Regions from separate parts of the Homo sapiens genome. Here all the other regions are linked to region 7. Evidence: promoter capture Hi-C in 16 types of primary human blood cells and fetal thymus (Javierre and others, 2016). All regions are on one chromosome and are shown on one strand. The core of a region is centred on a gene start or on the middle of the fragment in contact, and the rest is flanking DNA. Distances in the headings are between cores, read along the strand shown. Region 1 overlaps ZMYM4 (zinc finger MYM-type containing 4). Region 2 overlaps ZMYM4 (zinc finger MYM-type containing 4). Region 3 overlaps CLSPN (claspin). Region 4 overlaps ZMYM4 (zinc finger MYM-type containing 4). Region 5 overlaps ZMYM4 (zinc finger MYM-type containing 4). Region 6 overlaps ZMYM4 (zinc finger MYM-type containing 4). Region 7 holds the start of KIAA0319L (KIAA0319 like).

Region 1 (3,400 bases), core at 186-2,685, 240 kb after region 7:
TATTTTTGGTGACCAGCCCCATGCTGAAGCTATGGAAAGGCCTGGCCCTAAGCCCAAGTCACTCATTAGTACACAATCCACACTTATCACTTCAGAGATTCCAACAGTTTTAGGAGCTGTGTGCCAGGAACCTGGGGCAGAAACCAAATATGTATTTCCTATTATATCACAGTATCACACTAGCCCAAAGATATTTTTATTTGTTCTGTATTTAGTAGCCTAGCACCTACAACACTGCGTAAAATATAACAAAAACTCAGTCTTTGCTAAATAAAAGAATCATTTCTATTAGTTAATAAGCAGTTTGAAACTTGTTTATTTAAAAAACTTAACCATAGAGTGTACTTTAAATTTTCCAAAACTCCCAAAGTTTCCACTGAAGTTTCAAATAATTTGTATACTTTCAACAGACCACTCCAAATCAAATGTCCAATCCTATTCCTATTCCTTCAACCGCCACAATGAGTAATGTTAGTCTTTCCCTGTTGCTACTCTGATTTGGATGTCCCTTAGTTTTTCAAATGTATTAATCCTGATGATTTTTACAATCATTTTTTTCAAGTTTCTCAATGTGAGAAATTTGTTTTGGAAAAATTTTTTTGAGACGGGTCTTGCTCTGTTGCCCAGGCTGGAATGCAGTAACATGATCATGGCTCACTGCAGCCTCAAACTCCTGAGCTCAAGGGATCCTCCCACCTCAACTCCCAAGTAGCTGGAACTAGAGGTGTGCACAACCACGCCCAGCTAATTTTTTAAAATTTTCTGTAGAGACTGGGTATTGCTATATTGCCCAGGCTGGTCTTGAACTCCTGGCCTCGTGATCTTCCCACCTCAGCCTCCCAAAGTGCTGGGAATGCAAGCATGAGCCACCACACCCAGCGATATTATATTTTTTATACAGGCAGCTACCACGCAGAAATATAAAAACGACTATGCAAGCTGAAACCATGCAAAGCAATCTTAATGATCAAAGAGAAAAATTAAAATTGTTCCATGATCTTTTTTTGTCAAAACACTTGAAACGTTAAAAACTCTGTCAGTTTGGCCAGGCACGGTGGCTCACACCTGTAATCCCAGCATTTTGGGAGGCCGAGGCGGGCTGATCACCTGAGGTCGGGAGTTCGAGACCAGCCTGACCAACATAGAGAAACCCTGTCTCTACTGAAAATACAAAATTAGCTGGCCATCATGGCCCATGCCTGTAATCCCAGCTACTCACGAGGCAGGAGAATCACTTGAACCCGGGAGGCGGAGGTTGTGGTGAGCCAACATCATGCCACTGCACTCCACCCTGGGCAACAAGAGCGAAACTCCGTCTCAAAAACAAAAACAAAAACACTGTGTCAGTTTAAATGTGTAGGGAAATGAAAAAATATTGTATAACTAATATTTGCTTACTACGTTATAATTTAAAATGTGAGAATCAAAGGGTTTTATTTATTTGTAAAAAATCTACCAGGAGTATGGCTGGGCACAGTGGTACATGCCTGTAATCCCAGCACTTTGGTATGCCAAGGCAGGCGGATGACTTGAGGTCAGGAGTTCAAGACCAGCCAGGCCAAGATGGTAAAACCCTGTCTCTACTAAAAATACAAAAATTAGCCAGGTGTGGTGGCACATGCCTGTAATCCCAGCTATTTGGGAGGCTGAGGCAGAAGAATCACTTGAACCTGGGAGACGGAGGTTGCAGTGAGCCGAGATTATGCCACTGTACTCCAGCCTGGGTGACAGAGCGAGACTTCGCCTCAAATTAAAAAACAAAAAAACAAAAAACCCTACCAGGAGTAGACAGTGCCTGCCTTTGTCTTTTCCTATGTAACTTGTGATACAGAATAAGCAACTTTTCCATGCCTTAACAAACTGTCAGCCGGGCACAGTGGCTCACCCCTATAATCCCAGCATTTTGGGAGGCCAAGGTGGGTGGATCACCTGAGGTCAAGAGTTCAAGACTAGCCTGGCCAACATGGTGAAACCCTGTCTCTACTAAAAATACAAAAATTGCCAGGCATGGTGGCACGTGCCTGTAGTCACAGCTACTCGGGAGGGTGAGGCAGGAGAATCACTTGAACCCGGGAGGCAGAGGTTGCAGTGAGCCAAGGTTGCGCAACTGTACTCCAGTCTGGGTGATAGAGTGAGACTCTGTCTCAAAAAAAAAAAAAAAAAAAAAACTGCCATAATCCCTTCTAAATTTGAATTGGCTTCCAAAATTATACCCTTTGCTCTTTGAATCTTTTGAGTATCTCAACGAGTTGTGTTACTGTGAAATTTGTACCAGTATTACTTCCACTATGACATTCGTCTCTTTGTTACAACATTTTCCTCATTTATGTTTGTAAGTTTGTCTTCACTGAATTCTTCAGGTGACATATCTACACACTCCCCTTTATGGCCACTTGAAGATCCTATGTCTTTCATTGCATAAGTTAATGATGGGCTGCATTCCAAAAAAGACCTATCCCATCAACATGTTAAATAGCTGATGATCACAATTACCTGCCTTAAGTAATCTCTGGAATCTGGGCACAAATTTCACAGCAGCATCCCGATCTGTTCTAGCATCTTTACCAGAAAACTTATCAACAATCTATGACCATTCTGAAATGATCAAACCAGCCTTTACTGGCAACAAGAAGTCCTTCGGTTGGCTTGTAATTAGTTTTCTTTCAGTGCAACAACTAACTTCAATGATTCAGCCTGAATGCTAGCCAAATTGACTACATTTTATACAATTTATTTAAATTACGTGATAAAGCTATCTATCTATCTATCTATTTATTTATTTATTTTTTGAGACAGAGTTTCACTCTTGTTGCCCAGGCTGGAGGGCAATGGCGCAATCTCAGCTTACTGCAGCCTCCACCTCCCGGGTTCAAGGGATTCTCTTGGCTCAGCCTCCTGAGTAGTTGGGATTACAGGTGCCGCCTTCACACCTGGCTAATTTTTTGTGTTTTTAGCAGAGACAGGGTTTCACCATGTTGGCCAAGCTGGTCTCGAACTCCAGACCTCAGGCGATCCACCTGCCTCGGCCTCCCAAAGTGCTGGGATTACAGGCGTGAGCCACCACGCCTGGCTGAAGCACTTTAACTTTTTTTTTTTTTTTGAGATGAAGTCTCGCTCTTGTCCCCCAGGCTGGAGTGCAATGGCATGATCTCGGCTCACTGCAACCTCCACCTCCCAGATTCAAGTGATTCTCCTGCCTCAGCCTCCCAAGTAGCTGGGGTTAGAGACGCCTGCCACCATGCCCAGCTAATTTTTGTATTTTCAGTAGAGACAGGGTTTCACCATGTTGGCCAGGCTGGTCACAAACTCCTGACCTCAGGTGATCCGCCCGCCTCAGCCTCCCAAAGTGCTGGGATTACAGGCGTGAGCCACCAATTGAATTTTTTCAATATAGTTCATA
Region 2 (3,597 bases), core at 821-3,320, 160 kb after region 7:
ATAATACACTTGCATTTTGTTTTTGTTGTTTTTGCTTGTATTTCTCACAATTTTCTCATAACTGTTTCCTTTAAGGACTCAGTACCTGGGAAAAATAAATTTGTAATTAAAAAATACATTTTTCTTTAATCAAAAATGAGAATTATATAAATCACAGTACTCTTTTCACCCTTGCTAGAATCCAGGATTTCAACATACACCATTTCTGATCTTTTTCTATTTGAGTGGTCTTATTGTGCATGTAAGTTTTTTAAAAAGCTACATCATAACCTTTTCTGAGAAGGAAGGGTACAAATAAAAGCAGTCATTTATATAATCCATGTTAAGTAATAATGGGAATATGATAACAGCCAATCAGAAGCAGGTATATTTTACTAACAAATGAAAACTTTCTTCACAGAACTATACAGTTTTAATTGAGGAAAATGCATGCTATATTAGCTTTAATCTCTAAATGATTACTCACTGGAACTGGAATTCCAAATGGGACTGGAGCATATTGAGTATAAAGGTGAAGAGGTATGGGAACAAACACTGGTACGGGAACTGGCACCACAATAATCTGGGGCTGACTTGGAGTGTCTTCTAACAGTAACAACAACAAAATCACAAAAAGCAAAGAGGGTTAGAAATGCTTTCATAAGATTTCAAAATAAAAAAGCTTATGGAGGTTTATAGTTCAAAATAAGAGTAACCTATGACACTACAGGACTTCTTACAAAGGAGAAATAACTAAAGTAGCCAAAAAAATAAATCTTGAGTATAGCACTGACAAAAAGTGGGTAACAAATATCAGTGATGTGAGGAGAAAATGAATGCAGGATATAATTTAGATGGATAAATTGAAAGGATTGAAACAGGGAACCTAGAAGACAGGCATGGAAAACCACTTGCTAAAGAGGAGGCTGAATAGGGAGGGGCCATTTCCATCATGCTATAATGCACATTTCAAAATCATTTGTAGCTACTGAAGATTTTTTTAACACAAAGTAGTGATGAAAATGACATCAAAAAAGATTAATTTGGCAACAATTTCAGCACTGAATAAAAAATATATCAACTGTTAAAATAGGAGGCAATTATAATATGTAGAGCTAAGATGATGGGAGACTACTCTAGGTTATGATACCTACAAAAAAGAATAAATATATATAGCAGATGTTCTAAGTATTAAAAGGATGAAACAGAACTTGGAAAAAAACTTGGAGAAAGTAGCAAGATGGATGATTTATTCCATTATTTAACCAGACGGTCCCCAACTTAACGATGGTTCAATACAGGATTTTCCAACTTTATGATGGTGCAAAAACAAGTATATACCATACTTCTGTATAGCACTGAATGAATTACATGGTATTCAAAACTTTATTATAAAATAAACTTTGTGTTAGATGACTTTGCCCAACTGTAGGCTAATGTAAATGTTCTGGGCATGTTTAAAATAGCCTAGGCCCAGTTATGATGATGTTCTGGAGGTTGGGCATATTAAATGCATTTCTGACTCATGATTTTTTTAACATATGATGGGTACAACATTATAAGTCAAGGAGCATATAGAGTCCTTTCTATGTGTCAGAGAATATGCTAGATAAGTGTAAAATCATTAATCTAGGAGAAAGGTAATACTAGGGACAGAAAGAGAAGAGCTAACAATTTGACTAGAGTTAGAAGTGGGAAAATAATATGGCATAAATTTTTTTTTTTAACAGATGGGGGTCCCACCATGTTGCCCAGGCTGGTCTTGAACTCCTGGGCTCAAGTGATCCTCCCGCCTCAGCTGTCCAAAGTGCTGGGAGTATAGGCATGAGGCACCACATTTGGCCAACAAACTTTACATAATACAGCGGACATTAAAAAATTGTTACTTGATTTAGAAACATCTGATAACCAAACTACATAATACTAAATAAACTGCTATTGATTAAAAAAAAAAAAAAAGAACTAAATCATTTAGAGCCTTGCTATTTTGGTGTGGTCCATGAACCAGAAGCACTGACTTTACCTGGGAGCTTATAAGAAATGCAAAATCTCAGGCCTCACTGAATAAGAATCTACTTAGTAAAATTCCTGGATAATTCATGTGCATATTAATCTTTGAGAAGCAATGGCTGACAGGATAGCCTTGCAGCTCTAGAAATCAAGAATTTCCTTCTAGTTTAAAAATTCTGGGACTTTTAAAAATTTTTTAGTAGAGATGGTCTCGCTATGTTGCCCGTGCTGGTCTTGAACTCTTGGGCTCAAGTGATCCTCCTGCCTCAGCCTCCCAAACTGCTGGGATTACAGGTGTGAGCCACTGCAATCGGCCAAAATTCTAGGACTTTTGGATGGCAGCATGAGGAGCTACAAAGATCTATTCCTTAGTGAAACAAGCAAAGAAAGTGAAACTATTTAAAAACAGCCATTTAAATTCTTGGGAAATTGTCCTAAAGGCATATACCAAATGAAGAAACATTTATTCAAGACAATCTGTTCAAATTTGGTAAGAACAGTGAAAGTCTGTGACATTTCAGCCATCACAGGCTTTATCCCCCCAGCTCAATTCAGCTCAGCTTGACAGAAACTCCACTATGGGTAGCTGTGGCCAATAAAAATGGGCTTCTCTCCACTCAGCTCCCAATCAAGTGTTACTGTATCTCATCAAGAAAGGGAGGCCACAAGCATTTCTCATCCGCTCCAACTGAAAGCTGAAGAGGCTAAATTCCTGGTGAGTACGGGCAAGAGGTCAGGGGCTTCCCTTCACCCAGTTTCCATCCACTGGATGGAGGCTCTACCCTAGGAAAAGCAGGCCAAGAACACTGGGATCCTGATCACCCTCACCCCAGCTCACTTGTAGGGCAGAAGTTCCATGCCAGGGGAGGCAAGCCAAGAAGGCCAGAGACTACTACCCTGCCCAGCATCCATAGAGGTGGCTCAGAGATTCTGCCTAGGGGGAGAGGCAGTTCATAAAAAAAAAAAAAAAAAAAAAAAAAAAAAAGAAAGCTCTGAAGCTCTCCTCAAAGGAACTGACTTCATTTGAAACAGTGTGGAGTAGCCAAGAGACTGTGGAGTAGTTCAAACCTAAGGTCACACTGGAAAACAATAGCACCTCCTTAGAAGCCTGTCCATGTAATTCCAAACCTTATGCTTATTCTATAATATTACATTGTCATTAATAAGAGAATTAAATGACTTGCTCACAGTATGGTATCACTGATTAACTTCCTTCTCTTTGACCCAACTTGTTAAGCCTCAGATGCGGAAAATACCTAACTCACGGGGATGCTGTGAGAACTAAATTGGGCAATGTATACAAACAACCAAACACATCACCTAGGAAATAGCAGGTACTCAATGTAAGTAGATCCTACATTTCTTTCCCTTAAAAAATTAATAAAGAAAGAAAGACCAAGGAACATACCTGTCTGGCATTCTTTGTTTTGGGTATGTGGTTTGCAAGAGGTGGCTTTAGTCTGTGTGATGGGTTTGCATAATAAAGCTTTGTTCTTCAAAAGCCTTGGAGGTTGGGAAGGTGGCAGTTTCAGGGCATCTGTTTGAGTACTTGCCTAGTAAAAAAACAAATTAGAAACCAAAAACATTTTTAAAAATCTCATTGTAATT
Region 3 (3,689 bases), core at 210-2,709, 190 kb before region 7:
GGTAGAGAAAGAAGAGAAAGAGGAAGAACTAGAGGAAGAGGAGGAGAAAGAAGAGGAGGAGGAAGAAGAAGGAAATCAGGAGGTTTCTGGCAATTACGTTGTTTTGTTACCTTGTCATGGTGAATATGAGAGAAAAAGTCAGACTTGAAAAAGAGTATAATAAGCATGTTCAATTGTATAAGAGGTTTTAGGGGCATGATGAGGGTAACTACCTCATATATCCCTAAATCTTAGGAACTTCAGTTCTGTCAGTACCACTGAATATCTGTAGATCATCATTATATATCTGAATACAGATATTCAGTGGTACTGACAGAATACCATTGCCTGGGCTTCCACCTGTTTATATATTTTAATATAATAATGCTAATATTAAAAATGGCTTTGTATTCGTAGGAAATTTTATCTTTGTTGTTTATTTAGGTTTCTCTAGCAGATTAAAAAGCAGTCCTAACCTTGGCTAGATTGAGGCCTGGAGTAAATTCTTAGGGAGGTAGAGGCCTTTCTGAGTTATTTTCGTTCTTTGTAGAAGAAGGCATTTGTAGAAGGGCCTCTTGCCCTTGTTCCGTAGTACTGTTTTCTGCCTAGGGAAAACAGGTGATGATACGATTGTTAAGTATTAAAAAACTTTCCTTTTTGGGCCGGGCAGGGTGGCTCATGCCTGTAATCCTAGCACTTTGGAAGGCTGAGGTAGGTGGATCACCTGAGGTCAGGAGTTTGAGAACAGCCTAGCCAACATCGTGAAAATCCATCTCTACTAAAAATACAAAAATTAGCTGTGTGTGGTGGCACACACCTGTAATCCCAGCTACTCAGGCAGGAGAATTGCTTGAACTTGGGCAGTGAAGGTTGCAGTGAGCCAAGATTGTGCCACTATACTCTAGCCTGAGCGACAGAGCAAGACTGCATCTCAAAAAAAGAAAAAAAAAAAAAAACTTTCCTTTTTGTATGCTGGGATCACTTTATTTTATTTTATTTTATTTATTTATTTAAATTTTTTTGAGATGAGGGTCTCACTATGTTGACCAGACTGGTCTCGAACTCCTGGCCTCAAGTGATCCTCCCATCGTTGTGGCCTCCCAAAGTGCTGGGATTACAGGCATGAGCCACCATGCCCAGCAACTTGAGTTATTATTTAATTTTGGGTAAAGGAGAAAGAAAGCAATGGCTGAGCTATACAGCCTGTCTCAGTCTGTGCTTGGTTTGAGATCAGTAGTCAGCCTGCAATCTTAGACTGATTAATTAACCTCTTACTGCCTCAATAAAATGATAATCCAGTCGTCCTTTATAATCTTAGCAATTTCGGGAGGGTAGAAGGTAAAAAAAAAAAATAGAAAAAAGTTCTAGAAGTGTCAGGGAAAATTATGTTGATAATGGTCATATGGAACTTCCTTCAAGTTTACCTTTTTGAATTTAAGATGTGATCTGTAACCAATCAGCCATATTTCAGGCTACCAGTGTATTTGCTTTTAAATGTTTTGACTTGTATTTTTTGTTTTGTGGTGGCCTGATTGGTAAAGACTGCAGAATTCCTTCTTAGTAGTGAAGAAATAGAAACAAAAGATGAAAAAGAAATGGATAAAGAAAATAATGATGGCAGTAGTGAAATTGGCAAGGCAGTTGGCTTCCTCTCTGTTCCCAAGTCTCTCTCATCAGATTCTACTTTACTTCTGTTTAAGGACAGCTCTTCCAAGATGGGGTAAGTGATTCTCTCTAAGAAAACTTAAAATTGCCTTGGATTTGCCCCTCCTGTAAAAACTAGGAACAGATACTGAACCAATTTACTTTCTTATTTTGCAGTTACTTTCCTACTGAAGAAAAATCAGAAACAGATGAAAACTCAGGCAAGCAGCCTAGCAAACTGGGTAAGTAGTGATTCTTGTGCAGAACTTAACATTTCTTTTGTCCCTCAGCTTTGATATTTAAGGACTGCAGTACGGTAAGTTTCCATGTTTTTAAATCTGGTCACTTCCCAGTTTCATATGTAGCTATGAAAAGGGTTTATGAATTAGAATATTTTTCTTGGTCTATTTTTTGCAGTTTATTTATAGTAGACCATGGTACATAATGTCCTTAGTGAATGTGTGTTGATTGAGTGAGCAATGAAATGTTTCTGTATGTAGATCAAAGGAAGACGTATAATTGATTGGACAATGAAGAGTGTGATCATAGGCATTAGGAAGGATAAGAGAAAGAAGAGAACTTTCGGCCAGGCGCAGTGACTCACGCCTGTAATCCCAGCACTTTGGGAGGCTGAGGCAGGCGGATCATGAGGTCAGGAGATCGAGACCAGCCTGGCTAACATGGTGAAACCCTGTCTCTACTAAAAATATAAAAAATTAGCCAGGTGTGGTGGCACGCGCCTGTAGTCCCAGCTACTTGGGAGGGTGAGGCAGGAGAATCGCTTGAACCTGGGAGGCGGAGGTTGCAGTGAGCCGAATTCACGCCACTACACTCCAGCTGGGGTGACAGAGCGAGACTGTCTCAAAAAAAAAAAAAAAAAAAAAAAAAGAACTTTCAAGTGTCACTTAGCTCAGAGTAATAAGCCCTGATTATATAATGCTATCTTAGTACTGTAATTTACCTTTAACTTAATGTTTTGGAACATATAACTTGAGGGGTTTGCCTATGAATTTTATCTGACAGTTTCATCCTCAACTCTTTTTCCTAAACAAATCCACCTTATTTCTGTAATCATGTGCTTAAAAGGTGTTTCTCTTTCTTTAGATGAGGATGATTCATGTTCATTGCTAACAAAGGAGAGCAGCCACAATAGCAGCTTTGAGCTGATTGGCTCCACGATTCCATCCTATCAGCCTTGCAACAGACAAACAGGCCGTGGGACCAGTTTTTTCCCTACAGCAGGAGGATTCAGATCTCCTTCCCCTGGGCTATTTCGAGCCAGTTTGGTCAGCTCAGCTTCTAAGGTAAGATGGTAATGGTTTTTCTAATCTCCTCCTCTCTTTGCTTCCCACATTGCTAAATAAAGTTTGTCCCAGCCAACCAACTCCCACCACGTTGGTACTGAGCTTATGTGTGTTCAGTTTAAAAAATCCACCCCCTTTGTGTATTAAAAACAAGCTTCATCCAGTATTCTTACTTTCTTGGAGGTATTTTTCTTTATGCTTCTCATGGCTGTGTATTGTCCCCCTCAACTACAATTTCCTGAGAGTAGCTTAAATATTGCAAATAGCAACTTTTGTGGTTGTCATGACAATGACTGACATTTGTAAAATGTTTTGTTATTGTTTGTTTTTGTTTGTGTGCCAGAGTTCAGGGAAACTGTCTGAGCCTTCACTTCCCATAGAGGATTCCCAGGATCTGTATAACGCCTCCCCAGAGCCTAAGACACTTTTCCTAGGAGCAGGAGACTTCCAGTTCTGTTTAGAAGATGACACTCAGAGCCAACTGTTGGATGCAGATGGGTAGGTAGTTTTGTGTTTCTGTGGGCGGGAATGGTGCTGGGTACTGCTTAATTTTGTTTAAAAATAAGTGAGCTTCTGTCACTCCATCTGTGCTTTCTCTTCTGAGAAAGAGAAGGTGTACAGACCATTAGTATTACATTCTATAAGTTTGAACAAAGTCTGTCCAGAAAATAAACATAAATAGCTCTTGCTAACATTCTGGTCCTTCAATTTCTGTCTTATTTGAAATGCATAGATCTTGTATTGTAAGGTCATCAAATTTCC
Region 4 (3,564 bases), core at 506-3,005, 140 kb after region 7:
TCTCAAATTCTAAGACAGGGAGATATAAAGAGAAAAACTGACTATTCCTCTTTCCCCTCTTCCTTATGCAGAAAACCAGAAAACGCACCACAAAGAAAAAGGCAGATGATTCCACTCAAGTAGACACCGTTCGTGGAGTCTCCTGAAACCGTTTTAATCTATTGATATTTTAGATTAGGGGTTAAGCTGTCTTTATAAAGGGCCAGAAAGTAAATATTTTGGGATGTGTAGGCCATATAGGCTCTGAACAACGCTGTTGCTGTAGAAACTAAGGAGCTGTAGAGAACACATAAACAGGCAGAGCTATATGCCAGTAAAATTTATTTATAGTCATATAATTTTCTTTTCTTTTTTTTGAGACAGGGTCTTACTCTGTCACCCAGGCTGGAGTGCAGTGGCACGATCAGGGCTCACTGCAGCCTCAAACTCCTGGGCTCAGGTGCTTCTCCCACCTCATCCTCCTGAGTAGCTGGGACTACAAGGCACCACCACCATGCCCAGCTAATTTTTTTTATTTTTTGTAGAGACAGAGTTTCACCTTGTTGCCCAGGCTGATCTTGAACTCCTGGGCTCAAGTGATCCTCCTGCCTCAGCCTTCCAAAGTCACACCTGGGACCACAGGTGTGAGCCACCACACCCAGCCATGAATTTAATATAATTTTCACATGATGAAATAGGAATTCTTAAAAAAATTTCCCCAACTATTTAAAAATGTAAAAACAATTTTTAGCTCATAGATTGCAAAACAGGGAGCAGGCCAGATTTGGCCCATGGACCATAGTTTGCAAACTCCTGTTGGAGATCATTAAGCTTACTGTTAAAGGTGCTCTGCAGCCCAACAGAAAGGTGCATATATTACTAAGCATAACATTGAACCTCTTCATTCACCTCAGCCTGAGACCTGGAGTGAATTATGGACTTGTCTGATGACATCTGGTCAAAGATAATTCAAGGACGAGGACTTAACTCTCTTAACAACAGTTCAGTATACATACAAACTACCAAAAAAGGTCCACTGTTAGCAGATATGATATGTGAAAGCTACACCAATGCTACCAGATCAAAAATGGTTTCTAAAAAGGTAAATGTAACTTCAAATTAGTTTATATTTTCTGCAATCAGTATCTATACATGTGCTATATGACTTGTACAGTTTTCCTAAAACAATCAACAATAAACCAAAGACCGTCTCCTCAGAAGTCCAAATATGGTATAAATCTGGACAGAAATAAAAATGAACAATTTTTTTAAAGATAACCAAAAAAGTTAAGCAATTTAAGAAAGCATATCATGAAAACAATAAAAAAAAAATCACCCTACCATTAGGAAGTATTGTAGGTTCCCATATTTTCAAGAGTTTGGTAAGTTCAATCATAAATCTGGAATAGGGCTCAGTAAAAATGTTATCTATTCTACCATTTTCAAACAGGTACTACAAGAAAAAAAAAAGAAAATATACATGTTGATAAAAAGAAAACATGAGTTCTTAAAAAATTATTGTAAGAAATACAGTTTACCCTTAATTTTTGCCCTTACAATATTATAAACCATGTTTAACCTCTCAGTACCTTAGAGATAGTTGTTAAAACACTAGAATTCAAGCTAAAGCTCCTGTTCTTATTAACACATTATCTTCAGCACTGACCTTGCAAGGTAAAGTTTTTGTACTTCGTTTTCAAACACGGATGGTACAGAAGAAGTATTATGAAGAACCCTTTACTTAGTTCCTAAAACTGACATACTAAAACTTGGTTCCAATGCACACGTTCCAAATCATGTTTTTCCTGATTCATAATGTGTATCTGCAGATGTGCTCTTTTGTTTTTTACCCTAGATACAAGATCATTTCTTGCAATCACACAGTTAGCTAATGTCAGTTGACCTGAGGAAACCCAAATTTAAAAACTATTTATTTGGAGCCTTCTAACTACAGCTCTCAACTCTGCCCCACAACCTAGCCCTCAAAAAAGTTCAAGTCTAATTATAGGACATTGAACTATGTTAATTATAACCATTAACAACCATATCATAGGCTAGAACAAAAAGAATACCTATAGTTTAAAAATGTATTGAGCCAGGAATGGTAATCCCAGTGCTTTGGGAGGCCAAGGTGAGAGGATCACTTGAGGTCAATAGTGCAAGACTAACCTGGGCAACACAGTGAGACCCATCTCTACAAAAAATTTAAAAACAAATAGCCAGGGGTGGTGGTGCATGCCTGTAGTCCTAACTGCTTGGGAGTCTGAGGCAGGAGGGTTGTTTGAACCTGGGAGTTTGAGACTGCAGCAAGCTATGATCATATCACTGCACTTCAGCCTGGGTAACAGAGCAAGACCCTGTCTCTTTTAAAAAGTACTGACGGCGCAGGTCAGATAAAATCAATTGAGACAGGGACACACCATGAGTAGTAACGGAATCCAAGGCAGCATGTAATTACGTGATAAAAGTATTTTGGTGTTTTTAAGGTTTAGTATTTTTAATTTATATTTCTGTGGCTATCTTGGTTTCTTGCATTTCTATGTATGATTTGGAGAAAATTATTTCCATTTAAATTTATTCTGGCTAACAAAAATTACCACTTCAATAGGCATTTTTATGAGGCCTCCTCAAAGGCAATTTATGAACTTATTGGCAGATTACAGTTTGTTGTTCAACAGTATTCCTCTTTTTCTTCTTTTAATATAGTCACTTTCAAGCTTAAAAATATATCTTCGTTATTGAAAAAGTTCAAAATAAAGAAAAAGTAGACTATTCAAACTCATTCAAACTCATCACACAAAGTCAACTACTATTCATATGCAAAAATATTTCCAATCTTTAAGAAATTCCATTATGCAGAAGTGAGTTTTGTACAGTTACAGAAATATATCAGTACATATAACGCAACATACATGTTTAAAAAAAGTCTCTTCCCCCTTAACCAGGAACAAGACAAGAATGCCTATCCTTGCCATTCTTCGTCAACACTGTACCGCGAATCCTAGCAGAGCAGCCAGGCAAGAAAAATAAATATAACGCATTCAAATAGGAAAGGAAGAAGTAAAATTATCTCTAGTTGCAGGTGACAGAATCCTATATATAGAAAATCTTAGAGAATACACAGAAAAATGAATTATTAGAGCTAATAAGTGAATCCAGCCAAGTTGCAGCATATAAGCAATACACAAAAATCAGCTGTATTTCAAGCTAGCAATGAACAATCCAAACAGGAAATTAAGAAAGTCCCGCCAGGTGCGGTGGCTCATGCCTGTAATCCCAGCACTTTGGGAGGCTAAGGCGGGCGGATCACAAGGTCAGGAGATCGAGACCACGGTGAAACCCTGTCTCTACTAAAAATACAAAAAAAAAAAAAATTAGCTGGGCGCGGTGGCGGGCGCCTGTAGTCCCAGCTACTTCGGAGGCTGAGGCAGGAGAATGGCGTTGAACCCAGGAGGCGGAGCTTGCAGTGAGCTGAGATTGTGCCACTGCACTCCAGCCTGGGCGACAGAGTGAGACTCCGTCTCAAAAAAACAAACAAACAAACAAAAGTCCCATGTTTACCAAAGCATCAAAAAGAATAAAATA
Region 5 (3,708 bases), core at 1,188-3,687, 210 kb after region 7:
TTTTACCCTCTCGTCATCTTCTAAATTTCACTTGGTATCTCTTAAAGCAGGCCTTATTCTTAACAACTTTAACAAACCCCATCCTGCAGAAGAGAGATCTTTGTCTGCAGCTGGACAGAGACCTGCAGGCCCAGCAGTGCTGGGAGTGGGAAGGGCACATTTTTGTTTTTAATCAAAGCATAATTTTCAGAAATAAACTAGTATTAATAGTAATTTCAGCCGGGTGTGGTGGCTCACGCCTGTAATCCCAGCATCTTGGGAGGGTGGGGTGGGCGGATTACCTGAGGTCAGGAGTTCGAGACCAGCCTAGCCAACATGGCAAAACCCCACTTACTAAAAATAGAAAAATTAGCTGGGCGTGGTGGCACATGCCTTTAATCCCAGCTACTAGGGAGGCTGAGGTAGGAGAATCACTTGAACCTGGGAGGTAGAGGTTGCAGTGAGCCAAGATTGTGCCATTGCACTCCAGCCTGGGCAACAGAGCAAGACTCTGTCTCAAAAAAAAAAAGTAATTTCAACTTTAGAAATCATGGTTCTCTAACAATTCCCTGAGATTGCTACTTTTTTTTTTTTTTTTTTTCAAGATGGAGTCAGGAAGATCACTTGAGCCCAGGAGTTTCAGATCAGCTTGGGCAACACAGCAAGACCTCGTCTCTACAAATAAAATTAAAAAACAAGCCAGGCATGGTGGCACACACCTGTAGTCCCAGCTACTCAAGAGGCTGAGGCAGGAGGATCACTTGAGCCTAGGAGTTGAAGGCTGCAGTGAGTTATGACTGCGCCACTGAACCCAGCCTGGGTGACAGAGAGAGACTCTGTCTTTAAAATATATATATATAAAAAATGAAAAACAAAAATTAAATTATATAAATTAAAAAATGAAAAACAAAAACAAGGTGATTGTGATTTGCTTTAAATAAAAGCTTAAGTTAGCACTTTGTTTAGTCACAGAAACTTTTTTTTTTTTTTTTTTAAAGACAGAGTCTGGCTCTGTCTCCCAGGCTGGAGTGCAGTGGTATGATCTCAGCTCACTGCAACTTCCACTGCCCGGGTTCAAGCAATTCTCCTGCCTCAGCCTCCCAAGCAGCTGGGATTACAGGTGCCCACCACCACGCCTGGCTGGTTTTTTTGTATTTTTAGTAGAGACGAGGTTTCACCATGTTGGCCAGGCTGGTTTCGAACTCCTGACCTTAAGTGACCCACCTGCCTCAGCCTCCCAAAGTGCTAGGATTACAGGCATGAGCCACCGCGCTCGGCCGCTGTCACATAAACATTTCTAAGGGATGATCTGACTATCTGCTATTCAATAAAATATAATTTCCTAAATAATAAAAACCCCTTTATAAGATCACAATGTAATTCAACAGTCAAAGCCAAAAATCATTAAAAATGAAACACAATTGCCTTAAACATTTATTTTTACTTGAGACATACAAAAGCACATTTACCAATCATTTAATATCAGCCAAGATTTTGATAATGGCTATACTAATATGTCTTTCTTAACTAAACCACAGGCCGGACACCATAGCTCACGCCTGTAATCCCAGCACTTAGGGAGGCTGAAGCAGGCAGATCACTTGAGGTCAGGAGTTCGAGATGAGCCTGGCCAACAGGGCAAAACCCCGTCTCTACTAAAAATACAAAAATTTGCCAGGTGCATGCCTGTAATCCCAGCCACTCAGGAAGCTGAGGCACGAGAATCGCTTGAACCCAGGAGGTGGAGGTTGCAGTGAGCTAAGATCACACCACTGAACTCCAGCCCGGGTGACAGAGGGAGACTCCATCTCAAAAAAAATGAAATAAAAATAAATAAATCACAACCATATAGGCCATCTTCATGATTGCAATCTGAGTTTCTTTAAAATGGAGGGAGAAAGTAAAGACACTTGCACATCCATGTTTTTACTGACTTGCTTAGTTTTTCTAAAGCACTCAAATTTTCACAGAAACAACAGTTTACTTTTCAAAGTAACATTTCACTAGTGTAAAAAAATGTACATGTTAACTTATATAATTACAATGGCAAGTATTAATAAAGTTTGGGAACAAACACAATAAATCTTGGTAAGCATGCTGAACTGTGTGGCTGTGTCTGAAACTACTAGATGCTCCTCAACAGCCACTCTAGTTTTCTCCTTTAGTGACAGACCGTGATTCTTATCAGAGCACATTTACAATAGAAAAATGGTTAATTCTTATGTATGATCCTAAACTGAAAAAGAATCATAGTTATTAATATGGCAATAGCCAAAAGAAAACTCTGCATGAGAACGAGATAATAACTACAATGTAATAATTTAGTCTTCTTTCAAGTTGCAGGGATGGGCACATTAAGGAACCAGTATTTTTTTAATGGGCTAGAACAGAAAGCGAAGTGTATCATATAGAATGACAATAAGTAATGCTACAAGAAATGTTTGTGTACACACAGAAATACACATGTATATGTCTCAATGTAAAATATATTTCTAACAGTGTTTCAAAAATTTTTTTAAAGTTTGAAACCAGTGGAATATTTAGATCAATCTGATTTTATAGCTTACCAAAAGGTGATAAATATTTACACTTGATACATTTCTGATAGAAATGAGTTTGATTTTTACCAATTTTAATAGTCAACTTACGCACTAAGGCTTTAAAAATTATGACTTTGAAGTACAGTATAAACCATTTTATAAAACAAATTGTTGTTTTTCAATATGAGAACAAGTACAACAGACTTTACTTTTTAGAATGATCCCTGTTATTTCTAGTGTTCTGGCAACAATGATCAAGAAGATTAGAGGTATCTATATAAACTGATAAAACATTCAGCAATTACCTAAAAACTGTCAAAAGTCTATTAAAACTGAAGCACATCACTGTAATAAACTATCATCTTACTGAGTAAAATTTTCATATCTTATTACATGTCAGTATTTCAAAGAGCATATTACTTTTGTAAGCAGAATAACATAATAAGCAAAATAATAAATACAAAAGTCATTTTTGCCAATAATTGCAGAAGCACAATACCACAGAGATATGGGGAGACGGTACCAATGACCCAACTATACCCCAATCTTTAGGCCCATAAGCATTCCTACTATTCTTCCTTCTAATTCCAAAATTTCTGTAACATAGTTCTGTTACTTATAAAACAAAAATCTGTATTTTCATCTTCTCTCTTCACTTGTCACAGCAGATTTAGCTGATATCCCTTTCTATTCAGATAAACAAGAATCTGTTCAAGCCCTAAACCTAATTTTTAACGCTACCCCTTATAATCCAGGAAAAAAAAAAGAAAGCAATGTTAAAATAATCCTTTATTAAGGGCTTTATAACTGTAGAGACAGAGTAACTTGTACTTTTTTTCCCTCAATGGCATCAGTAAATTTATAACAACTTCATTTTTTTACTCTCATAAGTTCATTAACAGAATAAACCACTTCTACTAGAGCTCATACTATCTGCAAAAATGGTCAATGGAGATTTTTTTGAAAATAAAAATAGAAGGCTGGGTGCGGTGGCTCACGCCTGTAATCCCAGCACTTTGGGAGGCCGAGGCCGGTGGATCACCTGAGGTCAGGAGTTCGAGACCAGCTTGGCCAACATGGTGAAACCCTGTCTCTACTAAAAATACAAGTAATTAGCCAGGTGTGGTGGCGTGCGCCTGTAATCCCAGCTACTCAGGAGGCTGAGGCAGGAGAACTGCTTGAACCCGGG
Region 6 (3,833 bases), core at 239-2,738, 190 kb after region 7:
TTATTTATGTAATATAGTAAAATAGTATACATCTTAAGTACTGTTTGTATGGTCCACAATGCCTTCAAGGCACAATCATGTTTGGTTTATGTTTGGATCCTCCCATGATCACTAATTTTACAAGTATTTGATAAACAAATCAATGAGTAGCCAAATACTAATAAATATTTTCTGAGAAGTAAATATCTAATTGGTAACCCAAAAGCTTTCAGAAGCAGAAAAACACATGCCAAAACACAAAAAAATTCCTTTACCAATACCTTTACCTTCTTAGTTTACTACAAATGAAGATCAATATTAATATCCCATGAAAGTATTTTAGAAATGAATAACACAGTTTCTATTGCCAAATTAACTCAATATGGCTAAAAGAGCCCCAACATTTGAATTACTACATTTTCTTTCCAAAACTGTGTGAATGACTATTATGACAATTAGTTCATTTGCTTTCCCATTTTAATTGAGTTCTTTCAATGAGAGACTACACATTAGCTCGTCCTCTATTATTATGAACAAGAAGAAAAAGAAATCATGACTTTAATGTAGTATTTACTGAATGTACAGTTTTTAGACCCTATGGAAAAGGCAAAAGAGGAAAATGAGGTCTCTGGCTCTCTTTAAAGTATCTATTTTGAAACCTTCCCTTGGTATTTTTAAAATTAAACAACTTTTATTTACAGAAAGATTGGTAGACTAAAAAAAAAAAAAAAAAAAAAAAAGACTTTGATTATGACCCCAGATTGGCTCCTTCCTGGCCATGAGGGCTTGAGTAACTAAATCTCTATATCTCTCAGCTCTCTCACCTATAAATGTTAACATCCTCTACTCTGGCCATCTTATACAGGGTTGTTAGGCGAATTAAGCAACACAGTACGTGTAAAAGCATCTGTAACTGTAAAAATACTACAGAAAACATTATAGAAACATGCAATAGAATTAGAATGAAGAAATGAAACTGTGAGACCCAATGACATTATGCCAGTAATAGAGGCAGGAGGACGGACAATGACTGGCAAATCCAGAATATCATAACTGAAGAAATAACCAAGAGCAAATGGGTAGAGGAAGTTAAATACATACACACACATTTCAGCACCTTGTTTATATAGTAAAGTAAAGAAATTAGGACCAAAATGAATTGTGTAAAAAAGAGAATTAGGAAGTGAGCTAAAAGCAAAACTACCTAAATTAAGCACAAAGAAAAGCCAAAGGAAGTTTTGAAAAGGTGCCATAAACTAAAGCTATGATTTTATTGAACCATGAAAGAAGTTACTGGTAACTGATGGTCAAAAGTAAACACTGACCACAACTGTAAAATCTATCAGTATTTTATGAGAGGCTAATAGTACTTTTTTGAGACTAATAATATAATACACTAGAGTTCTCTTTTCCAGTCCATGGGAAATGAATAAAAGTAATAAATTATGCAATTTTGAAAGGCAATACTCTTCTAAAAGAAGGAGGGAAGGTGGAGACGGGTGTGGAAAAGACAAGAAAAAGAAAAGAAGGAAAGAATCACATATCTAGTTTATAACATGAGAGCTGCTCTGGGGGATTTCTAGAAGAATTATCAAAGGTCTGATCCTATAGGACTGGTATTGCTGACAACAAAAAGGACTCCTCAGGGAAAACCTAGCTCTATCCACTCACATACTACAAGTCCCTTATTGTGGGGTCAGGGTAAAGAATGCTTTTGGATCTTATGCCCAGGACCTACTCACATTACTGCTTAATTCTCAAGTCCAATCAATCAGGGAGTAAGCCTTTGGGGAAGTTCTTCCCATAATCATGATGAAACTTCATATTCATATTCAGTATTTGATAACACATTTTATAATTCTGAATAAGTATATAAAAATTTAAGTGTTTCTATCTGTTCCATCCTATTTATATTCTCCAGCCACTGGAACCTCTGATTGTTCTGAAAACAACAATACTAATAACCTTCTCAGTGTTCTCTACCCCTATTGTATTTGGTTTATGCTCTAAGTGCCTTTTTGTCCCAAGGAAGTGTCACATGGTTCAAGTACAAAAGAAAGAGATGATTTTGGTACCCTGCCAGCATGCCCACATTGGGGCAGGAGAAGAGATACAAGATCTGCCCTTCATATAGACATGGCTGTAGTCTTCTGAAGCATATACTGCCACATGAACTTTCCCCAGGTGTTGGGACATCTATTTATCCCTAATTCAGATATCTAAGATCTCCATTACCTGCTTCTATAAACATGCTTTTATTTACCTTCTATTTAAATAGAACAGAAAAATCTATTTATATTCCTTCTACTTTCTTCTTTGTAGCAAGTATACTCATATCCATCCAACTCCTATAGCTTTATCACTACCCTAACACATCCAACTTCCACTGAACGTCATGGAATTCATGCTAACTGAGCATCAATTTGACTCAGTGACTCACATGAATCACCAACCTCTGCAATCTCCTATTCTTCCATCTGCTTACTCTAATACAATGGTTCTCAATAGATCATTTTTTGTTAAAATTGGCAAGGGAGGAGGCTGCTACTGGCATGTAGTAGGTAGAGGCCACAAATGCTTACTAAATGTCCTGCAATGCACAGGACATTTCTTCACAACAAAGAATTATCTGGTCCAAAATGTCAATGCTGTGGAGTTTGAGAAATCCTGTCCAAAAACATCTAAATGAAAAATGCACTTGACCAGGCACGGTGGCTCACGTCTGTAAACCCAACACTTTGGAAGGCCATAGCAGGAGGATCGCTTGAGCACAGAAGTTAGAGACAAGCTTGTGCAACTTACTTTACCAAAAAAAAAGTCTCACTCTGTCATCCAAGCCGGAGGGCAGTGGCACAATCTCAGTTCACTGCAACCTCCACCTCCTGGTTCAAGTGATTCTCCTCCCTCAGCCTCCGAAGTAGCTGGAATTACAGGCACCCGCCACCATGCCTGGCTAATTTTTTGTATTTTTAGTAGAGATGGGATTTCACCAGGTTGGCCAGGGTGGTCTGGAACTCCTGACCTCAAGTGATCTGCTGGCTTCAGCCTGCCAAGTGCTGGGATGACAGGCGTGAGCCATCACGTCTGGCCCCTCTACAAATCTTTTTTTAATTCGCCAGTGTGGTGGTACACGCCTGTGGTCCCAGCTACTCAAGAGGCTGAGCTGGGAGGTTCACTTGAGCCTGGGAGGTTGAGGCTGCAGTGAGCAGTGATTGCACCACTGCATTCCAGCCTGGGCAAGAGAGCAAGACCTTGTCTCAAAAAAAAAAGAGAAAAAACAAAAAGAAAGAAAAGAAAAAGAAAGCACTTCCACAGAAGTCTGACAGTCTCAAACCTTCTAATATAAACAGAAAGATAGGAAAATATAAGCTTCCCCCAGATTAAATGTCATTTCAGAAAAAGAGCCAATTCATACCATCTTTACAAAACACAGATACCCTCAAATAATTGCTGCTATTGCATATTCGTCCCTTGGACCCCTTCTTGCACTTCAAAATGATTGCAGCATCTGATATAACTTTTTTCTTCTATTCCAACAACAGCAACATCATTAACTGCATGGATAGCTTAGCTGACTTCAGGACCTCACAGTTTTAAGATCTCTATGATTTTATCTCCAGAGCAACCTTGAAATAGCAGAGCTCTACCTTCACTCTTATTACTCACAGATCTCAAACTTGGAATCATGTATCATTCATCAAAGCCTCCTTTACCTTCTATCCACTAATCCAATGAACTGGTTCTTCAATCAATTAACCCTTCCAAAGATGATCTGTCCATTAACCCCTCCTGAAAAATATTTAAATCCATATATAGCCTGTACTTCATTAGCATTAACTGCAAAAGGCTTACTA
Region 7 (3,403 bases), core at 890-3,389:
TAGTTACTACCTGCTGCTGTTACCCTATGAGTCAGCTTCCATCTGCTCTGGGACGCCCCAGAAAACAGACCCAGGCAGCCCCTAGTGCCACAGCCTTATTCAGTCCCATTCTCCTCTTTGCCCCCATTCTCAGGGGGAGCAAAAAAGAGCACAAAGGTAGGGGTCTTGGGCCTTCGTTGGTGCCTCCAGGGTTGCTAGCACTACGTACATATCCTTGGGGACTCACTGACCCCATTCCTTGGGGGCCCAACCACCCAGCCCTTCCCACCTCCCAATTTTCAGCCAGTTCCTTACTAGCAGCAGGGCTGCAAACTGCTCGCTGTCATTCTTGGCCTCACGGAGGGCTCCCAGGTAGCGCTCCAGGGTGGGGTTTCGGCCCTCTGCCTGGTTCAGAGCTGGCTCGCAATCCGAGGCCATGATGCTCGCCTTGCCCAACTGTGAACACAAGAGGGACTGAGCATCCCTCTGCAGAGGAGGGACGGGGGTGGGGTGGGGGTGAGAGTGGAGGATGGAGGGAGGGAGGGATTAGCACAGAGGGAGGGGAGGAGAGAATCTGGAGGGGTGGACTCCTCAGGACTGACCTCCCCCCAGAAGCCCCTTTAAGGGGCTGGATCTGCAAATCCTTAGGGATAAAGAAGGGACCCTGGTCCAAGGTCACCTCCAGAAAGCGGGAAAGAAGGACCATGCATGCTGCTGCTCAGCCGGACAGCTCTCCTCACCAGTCTCCTGGGGGTGGGCGGGAGCTGGCCCCACTGCTCAGCTGTCCCCCTGGCACCGGAGGCTGGGTTTTATCTCCCTCCACAGGGACACAGAGGGAGTGAGTGGTGAGGACAGACAGGGAGAAATGGAGACATACATGGGTGAAGTTCGATTATCCGGACTCAGGCTGACATGGGAGAAAAGGACACCCCAGGCTTCCTTTCCCCTCCCTTCTTCAGAGGCAGAGATACGCTTCAGAAGTGAGAATACAAGACGCTCAACAGGGAAGGCTTGGAGGCCCCTTTGGGGACCCCACCCCTCCAGCCAGGGCTCTCAGTCGCCCCCGCAGGCTCCTTGCCTCCTCTCCTTTCCCTCCCTCGGGTAGAGGCTGCAGCAGCAGCAGCAGCGGCGGCGGCAGCAGCAGAATTAACCCCTTGCGCTCCCTCTTCTCGCCCTCCCCGTCCCGCTACCAGCCTGTGGATGCCGGCAGGGGCTGGAGAAGCAAGAGGGGGTCCCGGATAGTTCCCAGGACAACGGAGAATCCAAAAGCCGGATAATCGAAGCAGGGCTGCTGAGATGGGGAGATGAGAAGGGGAGGAGGGTTCCTGGCGGTCACCACCTGTCCCGCCGCAGCCAGGTCACAACACGACATTGATGAAGTCACGACAGGGCGGCGATGAGATCACACTTCACGATGGCGCGGTGATGTCACGGAGAGATCACGTCAAAATCACGACATGGGAGACAGCCCCCAAAGATGACAGGGCAAATTAAAAAAAAAAAAGATATATATTGAAAAGGGCTGTGACAAAATGGAGTCTCGACAGGGCACGATGGTGTCGCGATATGGCGCGATGGAGTCGCGATAGGGTCCCCGGGGTGTGTCGGCATCGATCAGCGCCGGCTCGGAGAGGCCCCGGCTGGGATGCAGGGGAGGGCCCGAAGGGGGCTGAGCTCACCAGGCTGCGGCCCCGAGCGGCGAAGTCTTCTCCCAGCGCGATGCTCCGGGAGCCTCGGGCCGCTGCTCACGCCGCGTTGCCCACTCCTGGCTCCAGGCTGCTGCAGCTCCACCCCCACCCCCGCACCGCTCTTGACGAATCCGCGGCTGCTTCACTCCGGGCTCTGGCCAATGGCAAGTCAGGGTGCTAAGCAGTAGGGGGTGCCGCCGTTGCCGCCATCTTGCTTGTGGGTATTGCCCGAGTCTGGGGGCTGGGGCTCGAGCGAAGGAGGCAAGGTGCAGACTGCCTCTGGAGAGCGGGCGGCGAGAGGCTGGGGGCCCAGATTCCTTCGCTTGTGCGTAGTTTTACCCGCCCAGCACTGCCCCTCCTCCCCCTTGGTCTCGCGGCCGGCATTGCCCTTCCCGGGGGAGGGGCGGGAGGGCTTGGTTAGCATGGAGAGTGTGTTTCCGGGTCGGTCCCGGGGAGGTGGGAGGAGGCGGTGTTTCCGGCCGCCGTCGCTGTCCAGGGAGGCTGAGGCGAGAGGTAGCTGTCCGGGTGGGGAGCCCGCACTACCTTCTTCCTCTTCCTCCTCCTCCTCCGGGTGAGGGGAGCGAAGGTTGGGGGTCCCCGAGCCCATGGACCAGGAGGAGGCGGAGGCCGCCGAGAGCCGGGGCCCCGCTATGTGGCCCTGAGCCCCGGTAGGTGGCCGGGGGCGGCTGGCTGCCAGGCCGAGGACCATGGGCTCAGGGGAGGGGCAAGCGGGACGGGCGATGTCAGCGGCTGCGCTGGCCGGATGTTGGGTCCGGAGGTGGCGCCCCTGGCTCGGCCAGGGCAGCCAGCTGCTTCTGTCCTTGCAGGTGCGCAGCTTGGGTCCCAGGCTGAACCCCGCTTCTCTCGGGCCTGGGCCTAGTCATGCAGCTCCCTCCATCCCCTGAGAGCCAGGCAGACAGCCGGGGTTCGGGGCGCTGCCGTCCTTCTTCCACCTTCGACCTCTGCAGCCTAGTCTTTAGTTGCTGTCTCTGATGTTTGGTCTCTCCACCGAGATAGAAAGTTGGTGCAGAATGAAGAGGGGATGGGGTTGAGCACGATGTGTCCATTATAATGTGAAACCTGCCTCATCCACGATTTTGAAAATTATGCCCCACAGAGGGTCCTGTAGTGGCTGCAGTGAGCACAAAGGTGAAATGAAGGAAGTCAAAATTGATAACCTCTGGCGGGATTCCAGGAACTCTTTGGCTTCTGGTCTCATAGTGGTTGTGTCCAACTGACAGTAGTTGCAGTTAGTGAAGAGCATTAGCTGACTCTCCTTGTGCTCTCTCCTGTGATTAACAGACTGAAAACTAGGAACAAATTGGAAAGACGACCTCCCAGAACAATCTGTTCATTTTTCCAGCTATTTGGAAAACAGTGTCTGCAAATATAAGCAAAGCTATTCATGGCAGTCTGTTCTGTAACTTTCCCAAATATCTGAGACTTTTTAAAAAAGAGCTTTATTCTCGATTACTCATACCAACTGAATAGATTGTTTCAGACGTGCTCCATCGTTGTTCAAACATATCTTATCGCTGTGTACATAAATGGAGTTCCACGTATGTAGTTGACAGACTGAACTGTGATACATCCCCCATCAACCTGAAGTATTAAGTAAACATTACCCCCTGCTCTGTCTGAACAGCTGCTGCAACAGAGAGTGCTTTTATTTTGGGTGTACTTGTAACGCCCTAAATGCCAGAACTATTGTGAGCTTCTCTAGATTTTCATTTGTC

The links. The method cuts DNA at HindIII sites, captures the fragments that hold promoters and counts their contacts. A CHiCAGO score of 5 or more calls a contact.
Region 1: a contact is called between a fragment that was not itself captured here and the fragment with the promoter of KIAA0319L in region 7, in 1 of 17 cell types (M1 macrophages). The highest score is 5.9, in M1 macrophages.
Region 2: a contact is called between a fragment that was not itself captured here and the fragment with the promoter of KIAA0319L in region 7, in 1 of 17 cell types (M1 macrophages). The highest score is 7.5, in M1 macrophages.
Region 3: a fragment that was not itself captured here is called in contact with the fragment with the promoter of KIAA0319L in region 7 in 1 of 17 cell types (M0 macrophages); the score reaches 5.5 in M0 macrophages.
Region 4: a fragment that was not itself captured here is called in contact with the fragment with the promoter of KIAA0319L in region 7 in 3 of 17 cell types (M1 macrophages, erythroblasts and M0 macrophages); the score reaches 6.6 in M1 macrophages.
Region 5: a contact is called between a fragment that was not itself captured here and the fragment with the promoter of KIAA0319L in region 7, in 1 of 17 cell types (M1 macrophages). The highest score is 7.0, in M1 macrophages.
Region 6: a fragment that was not itself captured here is called in contact with the fragment with the promoter of KIAA0319L in region 7 in 1 of 17 cell types (monocytes); the score reaches 5.6 in monocytes.

What each region holds. Positions count from the first base shown.
Region 1 is chr1:35,316,823-35,320,222 of GRCh38, reverse strand. The region is part of intron 1 of ZMYM4 (zinc finger MYM-type containing 4); the gene reads right to left. Among named protein-coding and RNA genes, the nearest start is that of ZMYM4-AS1, 48 kb to the left of the region's middle. The HindIII fragment of the contact is 5,150 bases long and covers 1-3,400 here.
Region 2 is chr1:35,393,540-35,397,136 of GRCh38, reverse strand. It overlaps ZMYM4 (zinc finger MYM-type containing 4), which reads right to left. Exons shown (of 30, transcript NM_005095.3): 18 at 3,398-3,542; 19 at 467-585. Among named protein-coding and RNA genes, the nearest start is that of ZMYM4-AS1, 29 kb to the right of the region's middle. The HindIII fragment of the contact is 2,814 bases long and covers 664-3,477 here.
Region 3 is chr1:35,747,643-35,751,331 of GRCh38, reverse strand. It overlaps CLSPN (claspin), which reads left to right. Exons shown (of 25, transcript NM_022111.4): 10 at 1-82; 11 at 1,521-1,699; 12 at 1,801-1,865; 13 at 2,728-2,927; 14 at 3,271-3,425. Among named protein-coding and RNA genes, the nearest start is that of CLSPN-AS1, 10 kb to the right of the region's middle. The HindIII fragment of the contact is 3,248 bases long and covers 1-3,083 here.
Region 4 is chr1:35,411,840-35,415,403 of GRCh38, reverse strand. ZMYM4 (zinc finger MYM-type containing 4) reads right to left here. Exons shown (of 30, transcript NM_005095.3): 27 at 1,321-1,432. Among named protein-coding and RNA genes, the nearest start is that of ZMYM4-AS1, 48 kb to the right of the region's middle. The HindIII fragment of the contact is 1,886 bases long and covers 813-2,698 here.
Region 5 is chr1:35,347,096-35,350,803 of GRCh38, reverse strand. All of the region lies in intron 2 of ZMYM4 (zinc finger MYM-type containing 4), which reads right to left. It also overlaps the pseudogene RPL5P4. Among named protein-coding and RNA genes, the nearest start is that of ZMYM4-AS1, 17 kb to the left of the region's middle. The HindIII fragment of the contact is 3,023 bases long and covers 926-3,708 here.
Region 6 is chr1:35,362,126-35,365,958 of GRCh38, reverse strand. The region is part of intron 5 of ZMYM4 (zinc finger MYM-type containing 4); the gene reads right to left. The region is part of intron 1 of ZMYM4-AS1 (ZMYM4 antisense RNA 1); the gene reads left to right. Among named protein-coding and RNA genes, the nearest start is that of ZMYM4-AS1, 2.0 kb to the left of the region's middle. RefSeq lists an enhancer at 3,825-3,833. The HindIII fragment of the contact is 2,562 bases long and covers 208-2,769 here.
Region 7 is chr1:35,556,139-35,559,541 of GRCh38, reverse strand. KIAA0319L (KIAA0319 like) reads left to right here and starts at 2,139. Exons shown (of 21, transcript NM_024874.5): 1 at 2,139-2,335. It overlaps NCDN (neurochondrin), which reads right to left and starts at 1,743. Exons shown (of 7, transcript NM_014284.3): 1 at 1,319-1,743; 2 at 295-435. The coding sequence starts at 1,351. RefSeq lists enhancers at 1-527, 1,906-1,965, 1,255-1,981, 1,982-2,709 and silencers at 915-1,124, 2,196-2,335, 2,346-2,445. The HindIII fragment of the contact is 13,260 bases long and covers 1-3,403 here.